Regions from separate parts of the Homo sapiens genome. Here all the other regions are linked to region 2. The links are contacts of gene promoters, found by promoter capture Hi-C in human tissues and cell types (Jung and others, 2019). All regions are on one chromosome and are shown on one strand. Each heading gives the region's core, a stretch centred on a gene start or on the middle of the fragment in contact. The rest is flanking DNA. Distances are from core to core; before and after follow the strand shown.

Region 1 (2,852 bases), core at 180-2,679, 320 kb after region 2:
TTAGTTACTTAAAGAGATACGTAGGAGGGTCACAAGCTCATGCATTTTGTCAAAGTCTATACTCTCACTCCCAGTTTGTCTCAACTCAGTCTGATGAGAAAATTTCATAGCACAGTGTCTGTTATATGGCAACTATTCAGTAAGTGCTATCTGCCTTCTGTAATCATAGTATTACGTGATATTTAAAATAATACAATCTTGGACCTCAAGGGGTAGCAGTTGAAGACAGTGTCTAGAACATAAGACAAAAAAATAAGTGCTATAAATGCCTTGTTGTTAAATATGCAAATATCATGATATAGCAATAGGCCAAATGTTTACAGAAAGCAAAGATTCGACAATAAAATTCCACATTAATAGACAAAGTTTTCCTCCACCTTTTTATTTGGGAAATATATTTAGGGGGCAGTTGAGATTCCAAGGTCTGATTTAATGAAGGTATTAGAAGTTTTATCCATCCCTGGAAAAGGTCTAAGGACTAGTAAAGCCTAACAAAAATTCTGAAATGAAGTATAGTCAATCAAAAAATGGGAACAGACAGAAAAACCTGAGGAATAGAAAAGCTGGGTTACCTCTGCTTGAAATTTACACCGAAGACAGCCTAGAAGCAGAGTGTTCTGGCCTGGGGGCCTCACAGAAGTTATGGAAGACATATAAGGGGGAGAAATTGTCATCAAGATGAGGGTAAAAAGCAATCTGATTGGAAAGCAGCATTATATCCTAAATTGAGAGTAAGGATATATGAGAAGTAGAGAATCTTATTACTAAATGAAAATATTTTAGAAATGCATTTTCTCAAAATGCCAGTGTAATGTCACCATCCATCTTTGTACATCTAAAGTCTCTCATTACTCTCTAAATCCCTGCTATGGCCTTTAAGACCCTGCATGGTCTGGCACCTACCTAACTCTATGGCCTAGAAACAACATTTCTTCTTGCTTCCTGGAAAATGTCATCTCCTTAAGTCAGAGCCTTTATTTGTGCTGCTTCTTTACACCAAAACATCGCTCCTGGTCTTGACAGTATTGTTAACTTGCTGGGCAACCTTGGGCAAGCCACCTCCAGTCTCTGAGCCACAGTGTCTTCATCATTATTAGAGAGAATCGGGTGAGGGCATCTCTAACTTCCTCTCCTGATCAAACATTTTTGAGTCTATGAATATTCAGGAGAATGTTATTAGCATAATACCAGGCTCAGGGAGAAGGGACGGTAATTGACATTTATTAAGAGGCTAGTGTAACACTTCGTTTTGACCTAGTAAGAAAAAAGCATGCTTTGTTTATGGAATTTCCCCGATCGTAGATATTGTAAGGGAGGAAAAGTAAGCATCATAAGAGGTAAAAGTAGATCTAAAAATGTTACCTTTAAAATATTCCTTATTAAAAATATATGTCAGTAAAGAAATCATTTCTAATATAACTGCAAACACTACAGTCATTACCCTTGCCTGTAGTTTGACAAATTGACCCTTTTCTTAAATATTTCTATAACCCTACGTGTTTACTCTGCATGCCTTCTGAAGATCACACCAAACTTCTCAAATTCTTTGGTCCTCCTGTTCCACTGAGTAAAAGATCCTAATTATTTTCAGCTGATTTTCACATATCTGTCTTAAGTCTGTATTTTATTATTTTTCTCCCATTCAGAGATTCCCCGACTTCCTCAATAATGTCAGTTCTCAGAAATGTGGCTTGTGGATGTGAGAAAGGACAGACTCTTGGAAAGAAGGAAGAGAAAAGAAAGCTTACAGAGTCAGCCACCAGGGAAAGCCATCCCCAGAAAGGGGCCAGTCATCACAACTCTAGGTTCATAGAGGTTATGGAAGCGTAGTGAAATATGAGGCAGTTAAGATTGAGGGACTTAGCCCAACACAGTGGCTCATAACTGTAATCCCAGCACTTTGGGAGGCCAAGGTGGGTGGATAGCTTGAACACAGGAGTTCGAGACCAGCCTGGCCAACATGCTAAAACCCCAAATCTACAAAAACAATCCAAAAATTAGCTGGGTTTGGAGGCATGTACCTACAGTCCCTGCTACTCCAGGGGCTGAGGTGGGAGGATCGCTTGAGCCCAGGAGGTTGAGGCTGAAGTTAGCCATCATCACGCCACTGCACTCCAGCCTGGGCAACACAGTGAGACCCTATCTCAAAAAAAAAAAAAAAAAAGATTGAGGGGCTCACTGATCTGGGAGGAACAGACCATGGTTAATTCACTCAGATTTGTAGGCAGATGAGACGCCCTGTTCAAAATCAGGAGCAGAATGGGTGGTGGAAAACCAGGGCTTCCCCTCGAATTGGGGAAAGAGACACCAGAAATGGAGTGGAGGAAAAAAATGTAGGAACATAGCTAAATGGAGCAAAAACAGGAAACTGAGACTGAAACAGAAGATATGGACCCTCTCTCAAAACAAACTGAAGTCACAAGTTCTTCTGTATTTCCTGTCCCCACAGAGATTTTTGTCAGTCTTCCCTTTCCAGCTTTTATACATATTGCAACAAATGTAAACTAAAGATACAAACTGTTAATATAAAATAAATTATTTCATTCCTTTATTTTTGCCAAATATTTTCCTTAAAAATAATGAGTAGTATACATTAACATATGGGATCATTTAATGTAGCCATAATATACAAATGATAATAGCTCTATTAAAATTGTTTAAACTCAGCATTAATTCTGACTTTGAAGTCAGAAGTATTGAGTGCAAATCGAGGGACCCTAAAAACAATATGGGGATCTTCAATGACATATGCAAACATGAATTCATGTATAAGGGTGTTGGGGAAATCAGGCTCTCACTATGGTGACAAGAATCATAAAACCTGTCCATCCTCTCGTAGTATTTAATCTAGG
Region 2 (3,051 bases), core at 455-2,954:
GGCCGTGGAACCCAGGTCCTGGGGAGCGCACGAACGCGGACAGCAGCGCTGAGAGGGGTCTCCAGGCGCCCGCGCGCCCGGGGCAGGGGGCTGTGGCTCCAGCAAAGGCGCCGTCCTCCTCCCTCTCGTCCCCTCCGCCCCGAGGCTCGGCTTTCCCACATCCCACAGCAGCCCATCCCCGGGACCCAGAGGGCAAGGGGAGGACCGGGCCGAAGAGCGAGGTCTGGGCAGGGTGAGGTGCCAACTTCTCAGGGGGTCGGGCGCGGCTGGCGAGCCCCGAGCAGGGAGAGGAGAGGGCCGCGCTCGCCGGGGCGCGCGGCTCGCGGGCGCGCAGAGCGAGCGGCGCCGGGAAAGGAGCGAGGGCAGGCGAGCAGGCTGGTGGGAAGGGGCGCGGGCGGCGGGGGCTATCCCCCCCGACTCACCTTGCGTTGGTGCAGTCATTGTAGAGGGTCTCGAAGTCCTTCCTGGAGATGAGTTTGCAGCGGTTCACTCCTGGCTGGATGGCGCCCAGTCCCCTCAGGATGCGAACTTGTTCCACATTGCACACCACCGGCGTGATCTCCAGCCGCTTCAGCTTGGTGTAGACCGTATGCAAGCCCCCCACCAAGTGCTTCAGGAACAGGTCGAAAGCCTGGGGCAGGCAGATCAGCTCGCAGCCCTCCACCGTGAAGGAAGCCACTTTGGCCCCCCTCAGATCCACCATTTTGCACTCATTATTCTGAGGGGTGTTTTCCACTGGGGACGGGGTTGAGTACACGGGTTTCCCGGGGAGGGGGCCGCAGCTGCTGCTGCTACTGCTGCTGCTGCTACTACTGCTGCTGCTGCTGCTGCTGCTACTGCTGCTGCTGCTGCTGCCGGTGCTGGCGTTGATGGGGGTGCTGGAAGCGACGCCGCCGCCAGCGCTGATGCCGCCGCCGCCGCCGCCGCTGCCGTTGCTCGCGGCCGCCAGGTTGGGGTTGCAGTTGCTGCCACCGCCGCCGCCGCCACCGCCGCCTCCGTTGCCGCTGCTGCCGCCGCCGCCTCCGCTGCCGCCGCCGCCGCCGCCGCCGCCGGTAGAGGTGACTGTGGCCGCCGCCGCCGCCGCCGAAGCGATGGGCTCCGGGCGGAACAGAGTTGGCCCAGAGGACGCCGGGGGTCCGATGGAAGGAGCCGGAGACGAAGTCGCCGAAGAGGTGGAGGTGGTGGTGCCAGAGGAGGAAGCAGACGTGGAGATTGGGGGTTGAGGGGGGACCAGCTGGGTCGGAGGGATCAAAGCCGCCGGCACTGCCATGGTCACATATAAGGGGAAACAGACGGAGGAGAAGCGAGAGGAAAAGTTGCCACACACCCCCGGGAGGGGAAGGGGAAAAAAGGGGGGAGAAGGAGCGAGGGGGGCAACAACAACTCCGGGAGAGAACGAGAAGGAGAAAGGGAGAGAAGGGGGAGAAAAGGAGGTGAAGGTAATAAAGAGCGAGCGCAAGAGGGGCGAGCACGAGAGGCGCTCTGGAGAGGAACGCACAAAAGTGTCCCGCAAGTCGAAATGCGAGTCCTCTCCGGGGGCTGGGATCGAGGGCTGGTTTGGGGGTGGGGGTGGGGCGGGGAGGGTCGGCTGTTGTTGTGTGGGTCTCGCTCTAGCACAAAGTTAAGGATGAAGGTGAAAAGGAGGAGGTTTGAAGGACTTGGGCTCTCCCTGGCAAGTACATTGATCAAAGATTGAGAGGGGAATGACAGAGAGAAAATGAGCTGAAAAGTGCAGGCTGCCGGCTGGACGAGTTGTTGTTGTCACACGGTGCAGAGGGGAGGAGCTCCGGAAACTTGAAATACCCTTTGAAGCCGCAAAAACCTCACTCACTAGTATTAACCCAAATTATCCAACCAGGAACTCGGAGCAGAGACTCCGAGAGCGCGAGACACTGGAGAGGGAGCGTGCGAGGAAAGGAGGAGGGGAGGGGGAGGATACGGAAAGAAACTGTGGGAGGGACGGAGAGGAAAAGCCGGGGACACAGAAGTGGCGATCGGAAAAGGAGAGGGAGATCATCTACTTCTCTTCTACTACTACCGTTAGATTGCATGTCTCACATTCCATTTCGTCCGCGGGGACTGGTAATTTTTTCCAAAGCTTCTAAACAATCGCCCGCCAACTTAAAGAGGAGCCTGAGCGCGCCGAGCTCTCTCCTTCCAGGATTTAGGATCCATCTCCACGCGTTTTGGCAATGAGCTAGAAACGAAAACACAGCCCCCACTTCACGATTATTCAGAAATTATTTTGAGGAAAATTCACATGTAAGCAAAGCGTAATGTTCTTTTGCATCTGATTGTTTATTTCTCTACTAAATTATTTATTTATATAAAGATAGTGAAAATTCCAGGACAGTTTTCAAGTGGTGAGAAGAAAGTCAGTCCGAAATCGCTTAAGAATAATGGAAAGCTCTGTATTCAATTCCATATTTCCTAATAGGTTGTGGAAAGAAATGCTTGCCTTGATGTGGATGATTTAGAATAACTTCACTGTCTCCCCAAAAGCCAGTCAGAAATACCTGTTAAACCTAGAGCTATCAAGGAGATAAGGTATCCTTGAAGATTTAGAAAGTGGAAAAAGGGTTTTCTTACCCAAAACTCTATAATTAATTCACCTGTCTTACACAGTAACCAACTATCCTCATGTCCTTTAAGACCCAAAGCCAATTGCTAATGTGTTTTTTGGACAACACAATAGTTTTTTTTTTTTTTTTTTCATGTTTGAAAAGTGCTGCTGTAGTTTTGGAAAGTCCTTTTCAATTTGTCAGTAAATATATGTTTTGTAAATAATGGGAAGAACAAAAACAAAGCTCACTAGTTGACTTGTAAAGACTTGGGTAGCTGTGCTTAAAACAACATGAGGCTGAGTTTAGACTGACTCTATTCCTCCTTTCCTTCCTCTTTCCTTTTCTTTTCTTTTCTAACTTGTTGCACTGAAGTATTTATTCAAGGATTTTTGACTAACATATCATTTGAATATGGGTCAAATCTATTTGCTGCTCATGTCTCCAAGTATCTTCAATTAGTTAGCCTTTGAACCGGTCCACACATGTT
Region 3 (3,194 bases), core at 177-2,676, 260 kb before region 2:
TTATATTAAAATATTTTCTAAGTAGTGGATTCCCTTAAAGCTTGATTAGATAAAACTCTTGATTTACATAAAACATTTCAGGAAAAATCCATAAAGATGACTATGCCTGTATACTAAAAGAATCTAATGTTTTACATGTTTAATATATTTAGTTCACTGAATCAATAATTACATTTTTTAAATATTAAACTTACACTACTCAACATATTCTTCATATCGGGAATATATTCTTAGCTTGAACGATACAACTAATGTATTGTAATATGATATTATATTTGAAAGAAACAAATGAAATAACATGATGTTATTTTTAATATCAAAAGATATGTTCGAGTATGACAAACTTCTATTTATGAAATCACAATAAGATCACTTGGTTTAGTGTGAATAATATACCAAGTTTTAATGAAATAAAATTTAAATAACATAATGAATGAATATACTAAATGTGATAAAATAATGCTTCACAGTGTGAATATTTATAATTGATTACTTTTCATATAATAAAACATGTATGCTTATATCATTTTTAAGCTTTTATCAAAGAATGTTTTCAACAAAAACATTGGCTCACAGCAATTCATTAAAAGAGAAATATTTTATGATATTGTGAAAAATGAAAGATTCTTCCTCTTCAATAAGTCTTACTTTTATTATGAAAATAAAAATATTATAATGTCCTTTTTCTTTCCCCATGCAGAGTCTAGAAAATATGAATTTACAACCACAGAGAAGTGAAGACAGTCTCCCAGATTCTCACCCCGTGTAATTGAAAGTGATTGTTGAACATTGCTGATGAAGACAAAACGCTATGTAATAAACTGAATAATAACTTAGACTCAGTAGGGACTGTGGATGACTTCATTGTGTTTGGTGGCACTTTGCAGCTATCATGTGTTGAACTGGCAGAGTGACTCACCTATCTCACTGAAGCTACACTGTTGTGATACAGTGATCAACAATGGTGTTTCAAATTGGCACTCACTTTTTCTGCTAATCTACTAGAGTACTATTTTTCTGCTAGTACTGTAATAAATGATATTCTAGACTTGCAGTAATGTTTAATACATCACCTTCATTATGCTGCTTAACTATATATTGAATGTATACACACATCTACATCTATTTACAAATATTTTATATAGAGAGGAGAAACAGAATAAAATTGAATGTAAACAATATTTTGTTTAAGCTGTCCATTTTAACACCCTGTTTATTATGTTTCTTACATGATAAGAATTCTTTCTAAATCAGTTTGATAACTGTCAGTTCAATGAATTCACATTTATGAAAAAATATTAGTAGATGTTCATCTTAAAATTATTCTAAGGAAATAAAGAATCTACAATAGAACTATTTTCAAGGATTTCAGAATCTAAAATAGAAGTATTAAATGATTACTGGTATGACAGATATAAAAAATCTTCCTGATAGTTTGAATACAAAGGTATCAGGAGGTAGAATGAGTGTTGAATTTATGTTGTGGAAAATTGGTCCCAAGTTGGTTTTCCACTTCATCAGAAAGCACTTTTCTCTTGTATGCAAACAGTTAATGAAGCATGCCAACACTGAATTGTTTTAACTAGTGTGAGAAATACTTCACCTTTTTCCTCTCTATTTCTTTTGGGAAGTTTTAATATGAACATAGTGAGACACCCTAAATGTTAGATCCCTAACAGGTAGAATGAGGGAATAAAATAGCTATTCATGATTTAAATATTTTCATTTTCATTTATGAATTATTCTCTAGTGAAAGGTAGCAAAAGATCCATCAATTCTGCTGCACTGTAATAAATGTATGATGAGAATGATCTAGTCATTACATTTTCATCCAGAAGCCTACCTTTAGTTTGAGCATTTTGAAGTAGTGAGCCTTTTGATTTAGTTTTTAAAGCCTCTGGCAGGTGGCAAAATTTTGTTCCAACAACACTCATGTGATTGGGAACAAAGGAATTCTTTCAAAAGGTTTGTGGTTTTACCTTTATTCCACTTTCAAAGAAAATGGGATGATCATTTCTTTCATATTAAAATTAAAATAAACATAAGGGACAGGAAAAACTACACATTACAGGATATAATTGCACTTTAAAAAAGAGCTTTTCATAGATTTATTCAGGCTACATTTTATATTTGTAATAACAAGGTGTTCACCTGCATAACTTTTTACAATATGATAATTTAATCCTTACGTTGCATTTCTTCTATTTGATATTTAAAAATTCCTGTTTTAAATTCATGTATACAGGCTTATTATTGTTTTGTATAAAACATTCTACCTTATATGCTATGATCTCAATAAAGACAGTTAGATTGTACAGGTACTAAGCCATGTAACAATTCTAAAATTTTTTTTCAAAGTAACTCAAGGAAATGCATTTCTGATATCGCTGTTACATGGAAAAAAGTAAGTCTTTTAAAAATACTGTGTTAAATGGGCATGACTTTCAAAGCCAAGTGTACCTCTAATCATCAGCAAATGTGAATAAGAATTGTCTCTTAGGAGCTTGTTTATTTGTGTTTTATTTATTGTTTCCCCTTAAAGACCAGTGTGATAGTAGTCTTTGTGTTTTAATACCACCAGGAAAAATTCTCTGGATGAAAGTGACTACTAAGTTATGGTAAACTTATTTCACTGAGCATATACAAAGATTATCATGAGCAACAGCACACATGTTCCTGTTTCTGGGCTGGGACTTTGTGGAGTGTTTAAAACGTGATAAATTGAAAGATACCAACAAAATTCAGACTGCCTGTCAGCTGTATCAGTTTCAAAGGAACAGTGTCATAAAAAATAAAAGTTTTTAAACAATGAGAAATTTTGAAAGTTACTGCATTTATTCCCTCAGTTTAGGAATGAAGATACTGATGCCCAGAACGCTTAAGTGATATGTATTAATTCACAATCATGATACTCTGTAACAATTTCCATATTAATGAGAAAGATGTAGATTATGAATTAGGCATATTAGTAATAGAGATTACAATGTGTATATATATATATATATAAAATGGGTAAGATACACATCCTCATGAATTTATCCTTAAGAGAGATAATGCTGAATTTGCAAGTGAATCTCTTGCAAAACATTTTTATATACACATCAGAAAAATACTTTTTCTGAACAGTATGTATATTATCATGGATATAGATTTAAACCATGTGGGTAATAATAACATCCAGCATACATATAAAC
Region 4 (3,067 bases), core at 106-2,605, 360 kb before region 2:
AATGAAATCAATTAATCTCTTCGACTATTTGTGTACACTTAACTCAGTTTTAACTTACTGAGAAATCGCAAATTTAGAAACACATATATTTGTTAATTAGATATCTCCTTCCTTCCTTCCTTCCTTCTTTCTTTCTTTCTGGAGTCTTACTCTGTCGCCAGGCTGGAGTGCAGTGGCAAGATCTCGGTTCACTGCAACGTCCGGCTCCGAAGTTCAGGTGATTCCTCAGCCTCAGTGTCCCAAGTAGCTGGAATTACAGGTGTGTGCCACCACGCCCGGCTACTTTTTTGTATTTTAGTAGAGACAGGGTTTCCTCATGTCGTCCAGGATGGTCTCAATCTCCTGGCCTCATGATCCACCCACCTCGGCCTCCCAAAGTACTGGGATTACAGGCGTAAGCCACTGCGCCCAGCCTAAAAATTTTCTTAATAGTATATTTAGAAGGCTTGAGATACATTATATTACTATAGATAAAATAACCATATAAGTCTACTGTTGAAGCAATTTCAAAGTAAAGCAGATTCTGTGTGTGTGTGTGTTTGTGTGTGTATACCTAAATGATTGCACACCACACATACACTTAGTTACATAAGTACATAGGTACATATAGGTATATCATATGTAGAACTCTTCCATATTTAGTAAATCCAATAACTGTTCTGTTCTGTTTCAATTATTAATTTACCTTAAATATCACCAGAAGCTTTAGGCAAATAAATAAGTTTATTTTGTTAGATAATAAGTTATCTTTCATTACTTATTCCTTCTCATATACTAAGATTTCATAAGAATGAAAAAACCAGGTAGAAACTGAAAGTTTTACTATTACTTTCTATATTCTAGTACTTTCCACTTTAGCCTATATACCTAAGATTAACAAATTATAAGTGGCATACAGACTGAAAGGCAATTTCCATAAATGACTTAATATTGACTAAAAATTTAAAAATAATTAAAATATTCAACTTGATTAGAAAGCATTTCACATTTGAATAAGCAAACAAAACATGCAGATTTTGTTCCTTCATCCTCTTGATATAGATTAAAAACTATACTGTTATTTAATGTTATTCTACATTAGAAAAATTTAAATAAATACAACTAAAATGAAATAAATAAAAATATTACATTTACATGCATTTTCAAAACTCACATAAAGCTCTTAAGATTCTTTTTTTTTTTATTATACTTTAAGTTTTAGGGTACATGTGCACATTGTGCAGGTTAGTTACATATGTATACATGTGCCATGCTGGTGTGCTGAACCCACTAACTCGTCATCTAGCATTAGGTATATCTCCCGGTGCTATCCCTCCCCCCTCCCCCCGCCCCACAACAGTCCCCAGAGTGTGATATTCCCCTTCCTGTGTCCATGTGATCTCATTGTTCAATTCCCACCTATGAGTGAGAATATGCGGTGTTTGGTTTTTTGTTCTTGCGATAGTTTACTGAGAATGATGATTTCCAATTTCATCCATGTCCCTACAAAGGACATGAACTCATCATTTTTTATGGCTGCATAGTATTCCATGGTATATATGTGCCACACTTTCTTAATCCAGTCTATCATTGTTGGACATTTGGGTTGGTTCCAAGTTCATATGGAACCAAAAAAGAGCCCGCATCGCCAAGTCAATCCTAAGCCAAAAGAACAAAGCTGGAGGCATCACACTACCTGACTTCAAACTATACTACAAGGCTACAGTAACCAAAGCAGCATGGTACTGGTACCAAAACAGAGATATTGATCAATGGAACAGAACAGAGCCCTCAGAAATAATGCCACATATCTACAACTATCTGATCTTTGATAAACCTGAGAAAAACAAGCAATGGGGAAAGGATTCCCTATTTAATAAATGGTGCTGGGAAAACTGGCTAGCCATATGTAGAAAGCTGAAACTGGATCCCTTCCTTACACCTTATACAAAAATGAATTCAAGATGGATTAAAGACTTAAACGTTAGACCTAAAACCATAAAAACCCTAGAAGAAAACCTAGGCATTACCATTCAGGACATAGGCATGGGCAAGGACTTCATGTCTAAAACACCAAAAGCAATGGCAACAAAAGACAAAATTGACAAATGGGATCTAATTAAACTAAAGAGCTTCTGCACAGCAAAAGAAACTACCATCAGAGTGAACAGGCAACCTACAAAATGGGAGAAAATTTTTGCAACCTACTCATCTTAAGATTCTTATACATCCCCGATCTATCCATGCAGTAGTGACAGGAGATCATTCATATTAGTGTTTCTTCCTTTAAGCTGGGAATCCTCATAAATATAGTATTCTCTGTTGTTTATCTTATAATGTATTCTAAAATCTATTCCCCAACTTTGTTTTTTAGCATAGAAATTCTCCACAGAGAATTTTAATATAGTGCCTCCTATAACAATAACTTCAAAAATCTCATGATACTTTTAAGAAAGTTGTTATTTCCTTCACTAACAAAACTATTTTTACAATTGTTAAATTTAATCATAAATTTAATCAGGAACTTTTTATGAAATGCAATTAACCTTGAAATATGAATACATTTTATTTTGCCAATTAGTTCAGCTGGAAAATTAGACAAATTTGAAACTAGTCACTCTAGAAATATTTATGGATGAATGCCAAATGCAACACTGTATAGAAAATACTCTAACAAAGATAAGACAGAGGAACTGTCACGGCAAGTGAGGACATCTAGTCCATCCTTGGACTGACTACCTGGAAGAGAACAATTATAATTCCAGAATGAAAGATAATCAGGACACAATTCTTACAGCATGGCTAAGGTTTTAATATATGGAGATAATACATAACTTTTGGAAATGTATATAATTTATTATCTCAACCTATTATCAAATTTCTAAACTGAACCTCCACTTTAGGCTTAGTCCTGCCAATGTTAATATATTTTCTAATTGTCTATCATCTATTTATTGCTAACAATTAAACATAAAAATTCTATAAATGTTTACTGGAATCTGTTCATCCTATTATTTCCTCATTTCTCTGTTGGGCAAAGAAAATGAGCCTAGATTAAAAGAATGCTTTTCTGATGAGCCCATACAAA

The links. The method cuts DNA at HindIII sites, captures the fragments that hold promoters and counts their contacts. A contact is called where the count stands out against the background at its distance.
Region 1: a contact is called between a fragment that was not itself captured here and the fragment with the promoter of DACH1 in region 2, in 1 of the 25 tissues and cell types used here (dorsolateral prefrontal cortex).
Region 3: a fragment that was not itself captured here is called in contact with the fragment with the promoter of DACH1 in region 2 in 1 of the 25 tissues and cell types used here (spleen).
Region 4: a contact is called between a fragment that was not itself captured here and the fragment with the promoter of DACH1 in region 2, in 1 of the 25 tissues and cell types used here (dorsolateral prefrontal cortex).

The regions. Positions count from the first base shown.
Region 1 is chr13:72,187,335-72,190,186 of GRCh38, forward strand. No RefSeq gene overlaps it. Among named protein-coding and RNA genes, the nearest start is that of DACH1, 320 kb to the left of the region's middle. The HindIII fragment of the contact is 3,433 bases long and covers 1-2,852 here.
Region 2 is chr13:71,865,500-71,868,550 of GRCh38, forward strand. DACH1 (dachshund family transcription factor 1) reads right to left here and starts at 1,705. Exons shown (of 11, transcript NM_080759.6): 1 at 423-1,705. The coding sequence starts at 1,270. The HindIII fragment of the contact is 6,446 bases long and covers 1-3,051 here.
Region 3 is chr13:71,605,072-71,608,265 of GRCh38, forward strand. All of the region lies in intron 3 of DACH1 (dachshund family transcription factor 1), which reads right to left. Among named protein-coding and RNA genes, the nearest start is that of DACH1, 260 kb to the right of the region's middle. The HindIII fragment of the contact is 3,324 bases long and covers 1-3,088 here.
Region 4 is chr13:71,504,967-71,508,033 of GRCh38, forward strand. All of the region lies in intron 6 of DACH1 (dachshund family transcription factor 1), which reads right to left. Among named protein-coding and RNA genes, the nearest start is that of DACH1, 360 kb to the right of the region's middle. The HindIII fragment of the contact is 3,228 bases long and covers 1-2,969 here.